3 separate regions of the Homo sapiens genome follow, and all the other regions are linked to region 3. The links are contacts of gene promoters, found by promoter capture Hi-C in human tissues and cell types (Jung and others, 2019). All regions are on one chromosome and are shown on one strand. The core of a region is centred on a gene start or on the middle of the fragment in contact, and the rest is flanking DNA. Distances in the headings are between cores, read along the strand shown.

What was found. Contacts are between HindIII fragments. The study calls those that stand out against the background at their distance.
Region 1: a contact is called between a fragment that was not itself captured here and the fragment with the promoter of PYGO1 in region 3, in 1 of the 25 tissues and cell types used here (H1 embryonic stem cells).
Region 2: a fragment that was not itself captured here is called in contact with the fragment with the promoter of PYGO1 in region 3 in 1 of the 25 tissues and cell types used here (mesenchymal stem cells).

Annotation. Positions count from the first base shown.
Region 1 is chr15:55,753,731-55,756,945 of GRCh38, reverse strand. No RefSeq gene overlaps it. Among named protein-coding and RNA genes, the nearest start is that of PRTG, 12 kb to the right of the region's middle. The HindIII fragment of the contact is 3,348 bases long and covers 68-3,215 here.
Region 2 is chr15:55,809,684-55,812,999 of GRCh38, reverse strand. No RefSeq gene overlaps it. Among named protein-coding and RNA genes, the nearest start is that of PRTG, 68 kb to the right of the region's middle. The HindIII fragment of the contact is 4,736 bases long and covers 1-3,316 here.
Region 3 is chr15:55,586,991-55,589,853 of GRCh38, reverse strand. PYGO1 (pygopus family PHD finger 1) reads left to right here and starts at 1,509. Exons shown (of 3, transcript NM_001367806.1): 1 at 1,509-2,019. The coding sequence starts at 1,971. It overlaps LOC124903497 (a long non-coding RNA gene), which reads right to left and starts at 1,304. Exons shown (of 2, transcript XR_007064647.1): 1 at 1,035-1,304; 2 at 1-551. RefSeq lists silencers at 1,488-1,607, 1,688-1,737. The HindIII fragment of the contact is 20,429 bases long and covers 1-2,863 here.

The DNA.
Region 1 (3,215 bases), core at 492-2,991, 170 kb before region 3:
CTCAAGTAGAGGAGGAAGAAGAGAGAGCAACTCCTCCCTCCTATGTTTAAGGTGATAAAGCAGAACAATTTCTATGGGACTCAGAAAAGGAGTCCCTGCATTCTCAAAGGCTGAAAAGGAGCTTCTGTGAAGACTTTGAAGAAATCAACACTTTCTTCACCAGAACAAGGGCTTTGAACTAAAAGCGAGGACCCAGGGTACCATTCCATGTTAGTTGCCATTCAGTGATAAATGGGATTTGGTTGTTATAAACGGCAATATGATTACTCTGTCGACATCAAACCTAAAGGAAAACTTTTAAGAATTGAGCTTTAAAATTCAGATCTCCAGCTGGGCACGGTGGCTCATGCCTGTACTTTGGGAGGCCGAGGCGGGTGGATTACCTGAGGTCAGGAATTTGAGACCAGCATGGCCAACATGATGAAACCCCGTCTCAACCAAAAATACAAAAAATTAGCCGGGCATGGTGGCAGGTGCCTGTAGTCCCGGCTACTTGGGAGGCTGAGGCAGAACTGCTTGAACCCGGGAGGCAGAGGTTGCAGTGAGCCGAGATCTCGCCATTGCACTCCAGACTGGGTGACAGAGTGAGATTCTGTGTTTAAAAAAAAAAAAAAAGGGCTGGGTGTGGTGGCTTATGCCTGTAGTCCCAGCTCTTTGGGAGGCCCAGGCGGGTGGATCATGAGGTCAGGAGATCGACACCATCCTGGCTAACACGGTGAAAAACCCCGTCTCTACTGAAAAATACAAAAAATTAGCCAGGTGTGGTGGTAGGTGCCTGTAGTCCCAGCTACTTGGGAGGCTGAGGCAGGAGAATGGTATGAACCCGGGAGGCAGAGCTTGCAGTGAGCCAAGATCGTGCCACTGCACTCCAGCCTGGGCGACAGAGCGAAGACCCCATCTCAAAAAAAAAAAAAAAAAAAAAATCCTCTAATTTTTTAAACATACATAATCAAAAAGGATTAATTTTTGTTGGTACTTGTGATAACTCATGCTTACTAACCCCCCAAATATATAGGCATACATTATTATCTCAGAAAAATGAAAACATATCAAAATACTCAGTCTTTGTTCACAGTTCTTATGTTAACACTAAAAATGCTACAAAAGATAGCTGCTTTATCTTGTGAGTATTTAAAAATGAGTATTTATTGGTAGACAGTATTTTTTAAAACAAATATAGGGCAATTACCAACCTTTTAGTCATGTCTTTATTTTAACAAAAAATGTAAACTTACAGAATATCAGTTTTCTGAAAAATCCCAAAGCCTGAGTAATAGGATTATAATTTAACAGTTACATATGCCCCTACATTTATTACCTTTTCATTTGTCTTTTCTAACTCTCATAGTTGAGAGATCTAGCAAATACCTTGCACTGGTCTAAAAATCTTTGGAAATCTTATACAACCTTTAAAAAAGTCTATGTCTCTGATTATAATTATTATAACTGTTCTCCCCAAACCTCCTGCACATAGTATCCCTTACCAATGATAGCCATCAACCTACAAACTAGAGAAATACATATACATGTTTGTTAGCTGGAAGCATGTGTACTTAGTGTCAAGAATCTACAGGTTTCTAGGTTCCTCAATGGCGGTCAGTGTGGATACAGCCACCCAGCAGACAGTAAACAGCAACTACTAAATACCACTAATGCTATGGTTCACGGTAGATAGGAGCAGGAATAATAGTAGACCAATACAGAGTGACAAGCTTGAAATCTTCCAATGATATAAAACCCATTTTCAATGGGACATTAAATACTTAACAATTTGTAGAAGTCCTTGAGGAGCTGATCAGGAAAATGATTGGTTCATAAAATCGACCTCAGTAAAGTACGGGCTAGAAGTTGCCATGATATCTCTCTCCACGTGCATCATCACAATTTCCCATGGCAGAAAGTGGAGTGTGGTGTTCCTTGAAGCTTGGCACATGAGATGCTGGCCAGGTGAGTTGGGGGTGGGGAGGACACAGTTCAGAGGCTTCTAATTGTGAACTATCTTTCCTTTCCCTGCTGCCACATCACCCCACCACACATGTACCAACCATGGACTATAGACTATCAGTACCTCTCCACTCATCAGGAGACAAAGTGGAAAACAATTTACTCCTCCCCTCAAAAATGTGGGGACCCCCTCATCTGCTGTGTGCAAAGCACTTTGCTAGGTGCTATGTAAAGGTGTTGAGGCATGGTGCACTATTTGAGGACAGTCATAAAAGATTTATGAAAGTACTAAGTAAAAGCTTAGCATGGGTGTGTCTGGAAATGGAGTGCTGAAGTCCCTTTAAACCCCCGGAGTGCCTCTAATGAAGCATGAAGGTGTTGGGGCCAGTATCTTCGTCCACAGCATTTTCTCCCCTCACCACCACTTTTTTCTTCTCTCATCCGCCAAACAGAGCACAAGTAGGAACCTGCACCTCCTCAATGGACAGGAGATCTGCAGCAGGGTGGGTGGGCAGATGGAGACTTTCTTTTTTGTTTTTTGTTTTTGAGACAGAGTTTCACTTTTGTTGCCCAGGCTGAAGTGCAATGGCACCATCTCTGCTCACTGCAACCTCTGCCTCTTGGGTTCAAGCGATTCTCCTGCCTCAGCCTTCTGAGTAGCTGGGATTATAGGCGCCCACCATCATGCCCGGCTAATTTTTTGTATTTTTAGTAGAGATGGGGTTTCGCCATGTTGGCCAGGCTGGTCTCAAACTCCTGACCTCAAGTGATCCACCCGTCTCGGCCTCCCTAGTCCTGGGATTACAGGCGTGAGCCACAGCACCCAGCCCAGATGGAGACTTTTTAAAACCCACAGCTATTTTGATGTTGTTGTGATTTTTTTTCCCACAACTTTTACTTCTTTATTTATTTTTTTCCACCTCTTCTCATTATCACTCTTTTCTTCAGCCTCCTCAACTTTTTCACTTCCTAATCTTTTCCTTTCTTCTCCTTAAGTTATATAAAACAGCTGGAAATAGAGCTCTTACAGGAAGATAAGACCATTGCTGAAGAGGAGGGGATGATTCCCTTTTAGATCCTAGAAGTTATATTCAGGCACCCCATATTTTCATGCATGTGTGTATTTTGCTTGTCATTTGCATTGTGGTTGAATCCCTAAAATAAGATTTTAATTGATATTAAATCCTGTCTACTATGGACCTGTGAACCCTACACAAATAGGGGCCCAGGGATAAAGTCACTCTTGGTGTTGTTAAGGAAAGAATATACAT
Region 2 (3,316 bases), core at 115-2,614, 220 kb before region 3:
TTAATATTAGAAGTGTTTGAGAGGCCGGGCATGGTGGCTCATGCCTGTAATCCCAGCATTTTGGGAGGCTGAGGCGGGCCGATCACCTGAGGTCAGGAGTTCGAGACCAGCCTGGCCAACATGGTGAAACCCCGTCTCTACTAAAAATACAAAAAATTAGCCGAGCGAGGTGGCGGGCGCCTGTAGTCCCAGCTACTACTCGGGAGGCTGAGGCAGGAGAATGGCGTGAACCCCCGGGGGCGGAGCCTGCAGTGAGCCGAGATCGCGCCACTGCACTCCAACCTGGGTGGACAGAGTGTGACTCTGTCTCAAAAAAAAAAAAAAAAGAAGTGTTTGGGTTTTTGTTGTTGTTGTTGTTGTTGTTGTTTTGAGACAGAGTTTCACTTTTGTTGCCCAGGCTGGGGTACAATGTCACAATCTTGGCTCACCGCAACCTCCGCCTCTCAGGTTAAAGCGATTCTTCTGCCTCAGCTTCCCAAGTAGCTGGGATTACAGGCATGCGCCACCACGCCCCGCTTTTGTATATTTAGTAGAGACAGGATTTCTCCATGTTGGTCAGGCTGGTCTTGAACTCTCGACCTCAGGTGATCCACCCCACCTTGGCCTCCCAAAGTGCTGGGATTACAGGTGTGAGCCCCCACACCCAGCTTGTGTTTGGGATCTTCATTTAGAAGTTTGGTGATGTTTTTGTGATTTGAAATTTTGTGTAGAATTTTGCTTATTTATATCAATTAGCCTATAGTAAAACTGGTTTTGTTATACTTCATTGCACTTAAAGTTGAAGTTTCCAAGAGCCTATCAATGACCTTAAGTGAGAACTTACTGTATTTGTTTGTTCAGAAGAAATACAGGGAGGATAAGCCAGAAACTAAAGACAAAGCTTACTGTTACGGGTTGAACTGCATCCCTCCCAAAATGATATGTTGAAGTCCTAACTCCCAGTACCTCAGAATGTGACCTTATTTGGAAATGGAGTGATTGCCAATGTAATCAGTTAAAATAAGGTCATACTAGAGTAGGGTAGGCCCTGAATCCAATATGACTGGGGTTCATATAAGAAGACAGCCATATCACAGCACTTTGGGAGGCCAAGGTGGGTGCATCGCTTAAGCCCAGGAGTTTGAGACCAGCCTGGGCAGCATGGCAAAACCCCTTCTCTAAAAAAAAAAAAAAAAAAAAAAAAAAAATTCGCTGGGCGTGATGTGAAAACCTGTAGTAGTCCCAGCTCCTTGAGGGGATGAGTCAGGAAGATGGCTTAAGCCTGGGAAGTCAAGGCTATAGTGGCAATGGGCTATGATCATGCCACACCGCTCCACTCCAGCCTGGGCAACAGAGCAAGGCCCTGTCTCAAAAAAAAAAAAATCAACCAGGATTGGGGGGAATCCAAAGTAGCATAAAATAGTAAAAAAATTAATTAAATTGCAAATAACTTCACTGAAAGAAGTAAGGAAGAAAAGAAATAACTTAAATAACTTTGCAAAACAGTATTTTGATTGGATAATATAAGGCCAAAAACAAACTATATAAATACTGTACTCTAGTTAATAAGTAATTCTGAAATGACTATAGGTATATGCCAGTATAGAATAAATAAGTAAATATACTACAGATATTGAAAGCCACATTTCTCAAGGTTCCAGAAGGAAGTTACCAATAAGAAAAAGGGGAAAGCCTGGAAGGAGCTCTATGGTGTTGGATTAGATTTGCAGGAATAACGATGAACTTGTGGTTTGTAATATATATAAAGATACATACATACATACATACATATATACATATATACATACATCTATTATTCTCCAATAAAAGGAACCAGGTCTCTTTGGAAAAAATAGTTCAATCCAGGGCTGGGGCAGGAAAAATTAAAGATGAGCCTGGAACCTCTTGTGGTTACAGAAAGCAAGGAAGTACTCAAAAACTAATAAAGGAACATCAAAAGGACACAGGCACCAACCTGAAGGAGCTCCTGATAGAGAAGGCTGGAGCAAATTGAGCAAGAAAATAAATGACAGTATTAAGTTGTGACCCATAGAATAAAATAAATATGCATGAGTCCATACTGATATAAACAAATAATTGAATAAATAAATACATGAAATCCCAGGACTTTGAGAGGCTAAGGCAAGAGGATCCCTTGAGCCCAGGAATTCAATGCTTCAGTGAGGTAAGAAAGTGCCACTGCACTCTAGCCTGGGGAACAGAGCAAGACTCTGTTCCTGAAAAAAATTAAAAATTAAAAATACTATATATAGGGTAGACTACTCTTCCTTACAGAAGAATTCCAATTAATGTGAGAGGAACAACAAATTGAAAAGCATGATTAGGCAAACAAGACTCACTGATGGATGCTAAAGTGGCCAAAGGTGAGAAGAAAATAGGACATGAGCATATTCTCTATGCATCTCTCCAAAGATATTAATTGCCAAGGAAAAATAGTAACTTTATAGTGGAGAAACACTGTAGACACCATCTTAACCAATTGTCAAGGTTAACTTGAGCAATAATAAGCCATTTTGACATCATACACCTCCCGACCCTAATATGAGGCACTGAGAAGGCCACGGCATCATTTGTGGCCTTCTTGCCAAAAACTAATAATGAGAAAACATCAGAAAAACCCAAATTGTGACACAGTCTACAAAATAACTTACTCTTCAAAACTGTCAAAATCATGGAAGACCAGAAAAGACTGAGTAACTGTCCCAGATTGGAGCTGACATAAAGCTATGTGACTGCTAAATGAATTATGTGTTCCTGGGTTGAATCCTAGAACAGAAAAAGCATGACAGGGAAAAAAAAAAAACTGGCGAAATTCAGAGAGGGTATTAAAGTTTTGTTAATAGTAGTGTATCGATGTTAATGTCCTGGTTTCCAATATTGAGGTATGGTTATGTAAAATGGTAACATAAAGGAAATCTAGATGAAAGGCATATAGGAAATCTTTGTACTGTTTTTTGCAACTTTTCTTTCAATCTAAGATTACTGCAAAATATAAAGAAAATAATGTAGTTTGAAATTTTTATCAATACAGCTATTCTACCCTCGAAGTTTTATTTTCCTGATCCACAACTGTAAACAATATTTTTGCCTCTGTTTCTTTGTTTTTTTTTTCTTTTCAGATGAGTCTCACTCTGTCGCCCAGGCTAGAGTGCAGCAGCAAATTCTTGACTCACTGCAACCTCTGCCTCCTGGGTTCAAGCAACTCTCCTGCCTCAGCCTCCTGAGTAGCTGGGATTACAAGCCTGCACCACCACACCTGGCTAATTTTTGTATTTTTAGTAAAGACGGGGTTTCATCATGTTGACCAGGCTGGTCT
Region 3 (2,863 bases), core at 260-2,759:
TTACACTTACCAAAGCCCTGCCACCCCAGTCGTCCCAGGGCCACTTCAAATCTCTTTATTCATACATCAATGAATATTTTCCCGAACACTTACTATGTGTTACTCAGTATTAGGTACCAGAGGATACAGCAGTGAGCCAGTCAAAATTCCTGCCTGCATGGCGCTTACATTCTAGTTAGGAGGAACCTTCTCCTCAGAGTGCTTCCTGTAAGAATATTTTCCTTAGCCTGTCCTAGTCTGACTCTTCTAATCAGGAATTCCATAATTCCAGACCACCCTTATTAGATAAAGGGTAACATTTGCCTCCGGCCACGCTATGTCTTAACGACGATCAGCCGCTGTGGCGATTGTCTGGTATGCAGCTGTTGAGGCTGTACATTGGCTTCATGTTAACATCTGTTCTCTGTGACACTGTGCAGCTGAATGAGTTGGGTGTCTGTCTCCGGAAGGACGAGACTCCTGTCTGTAGCTAGTTCTGTGTCCTCCCACGCTTCATGAGTGCTTTTCGGTGATTCTTACATCAAAATAAGCCCAGTGGATAACCAGAAAACCTAGCAAAACAAAAACAAAAACAAAAAACAAAAAACAAAAACCAGGGAAAACAATTTCGTAGAAGTGCGTTAAACAATGTCGGAGCTAGAAGAGACCTTCGAGATGTAGCCCCACTGCCTTTTATAGACAAGAAAACTGAGACCCAGAGAGGTTACCTAAGTCGCCTCCGGTCACACAGCCCAACTGAAGAATGTGGACCGGTGATCACATCTAATTTACAATCACACTGGGGGTGTTCCTCCTAAAATTTAACGTCTAAATGAGATCCAGCCGCGTCACCGCTTCTACCCACGCTCCCCCCTCCCCCGCCCACCGTCCTTTCTGGTATTTATTCTACGTCGCTCTTTCTTGAAGAGTCAAGTCGTTAAAATACCAAGTGGAGGCATTCTACAGACAGGTGTCCACACCACGGCCACGCGGACACGGAGTCGGGGAATCTGGATCCCCACATGCCCGCCGAGAACTCTCCAGCTCCCGCTTACAAAGTTTCCTCGCATGGTACGTTCATCTTTCCGATCCCTAGCTGCGAGGCCGAGACGCCTGCTGCTGTGGCCTCCGACGAAGTTCGGAGATGCCCTTTCCTTGCGAAAGCTGGGCCCGGTAGCGTCGGCCGCGGGGTCGGGCGTTCTCGGGCCTGGCGGTCGGCGAGGGAGCGCCGGGCGCGGGGCGGGGCGGCCCCTAGGCGCGCGCTGCCCACCCGGGCTGCAAGAGCCGCGGGCCCGCGAGCCCCGGCTTGGAGCAAGAGGCGCGCGCGGGCCGTGGGGGCTGGGCCGAGGCGGAGCGCGAGGCGGCGGCGGTGGCGGGAGGCGCCGCGGGACGAGGCAGCGGCCCCCGCCCCCCGAAGCCCGTCCCCGCGCGGGGCTGGGGAGCTCAGGGCGGGGAAGCCGCGGGGCCGCGCCACGTCCCTCGCCCGCCCCAGAGCGGGTTTTACAGGCGGCTCCAGTCTGGGGGCTTTTGTGTCTGCGACTCGGGAGCGGCGAGAGAGCAGACCTCCTCCTCAGAGGGCGCTGTGAGTGTGCCGCCAGGGCCGGGCCGCGAGCCTCCTGCTTCCCCTGTCAGCGGCTCCTGAGGCGGCGGCGAAGAAGAAGGAGTGGGAGGAGGCGGCGGCGGCGGCGGCGCACTCGCCCTCAGCACATGCCGGCCCCGGGTGGGGGGCCGCCCCCAGGCCGCGCTCCCGGCCACCGCCGCTGAGCCCCGCCGGTGCCCGCACGCCGCCCCGCCGCCCCGCCGCCCCGAGGCCTCGTCCTCCTCCCAAACTTTGCAAAGTCGGCCCGCGTCCCCACCGCCCTCGGCCGTGCCTCGGCTCCGAGGCTTGCCTCGCAGCCGCAGCGGCCCCGCGAGGAGGAGGAGCCGCCGCCGCAGCATCAAAGAGACCGAATTCCCGCGGCCTGGGGGGGAGTCATGCTTTGCGGTCTGTAATGTCAGCAGAACAGGAGAAGGATCCCATTTCGCTGAAGAGAGTTCGAGGTAACCGAGAAGGGTGCCGGATTGGGGGAACCGGGGTGAGTGAGGTGCGCGGGGCCCCGTGCCCGGCCGCCGGGAGGCCATGGGGCTCTGTCCGGGCCTAAGTCCGCGCAGCCCGCGTCCCGCCGGCACCCCGGGGCCGAGGCTGCGATCCGAGCGCGCGGCCCGGGCGCCCGCTGGCCCCCGAGACATCCGCGCGGATCCCTCGCCTCCCGACTTTGTGTTCGGAGGCAGTTGGAGCCGCAAGCAGCATCCTTTCTTACCCCCTCCTCACCCACCTCTCCTCGTTCTCAAGACAGCACAATAGGCACCTCAAAGGGTGAAAAACAGACACCCCCTGGCAGAGACCTCGAACGGTGCCCACCCCCTCAAAAAAAGTAAGTTGGAGTACACAAGAGTTGATGCTGTTGAAGAAGGGCTCCTGGGCTTTCACGTCTCTCCTGGCCCCCTTCTCGCCCCCCCACCCCGGCAAAGGCAACAAATATTCAGTTTATTTTCCGTAGGTTTAAGAGGAGAAGCTACAAATTCAGAAGGCATTTTCTCTGTTGGTTTATGGATAAGATATTATCTAAAATCAGTGTTATGCATGGTTGATTTTCTTCTTTCTTGCGCACTGGTTAGGAATTTTCCTTTCGTGTTACTATCATCTAAGAAAAATCAGAGGGAACCATGTGTCAAACAAAAGATACTGCATATAAGTTCACAAAAGTCAAATGCCACCCGGAAATTGGGGGATGCCTTTTAGCTCTTAATAAGGTTAAGACTGAAAGTTCTAGAGTTGGAGTAGTACTCACTGTTCATTAAGCAAATATTTATTGAACATCTACTATGTGCTAGACACTGTTCT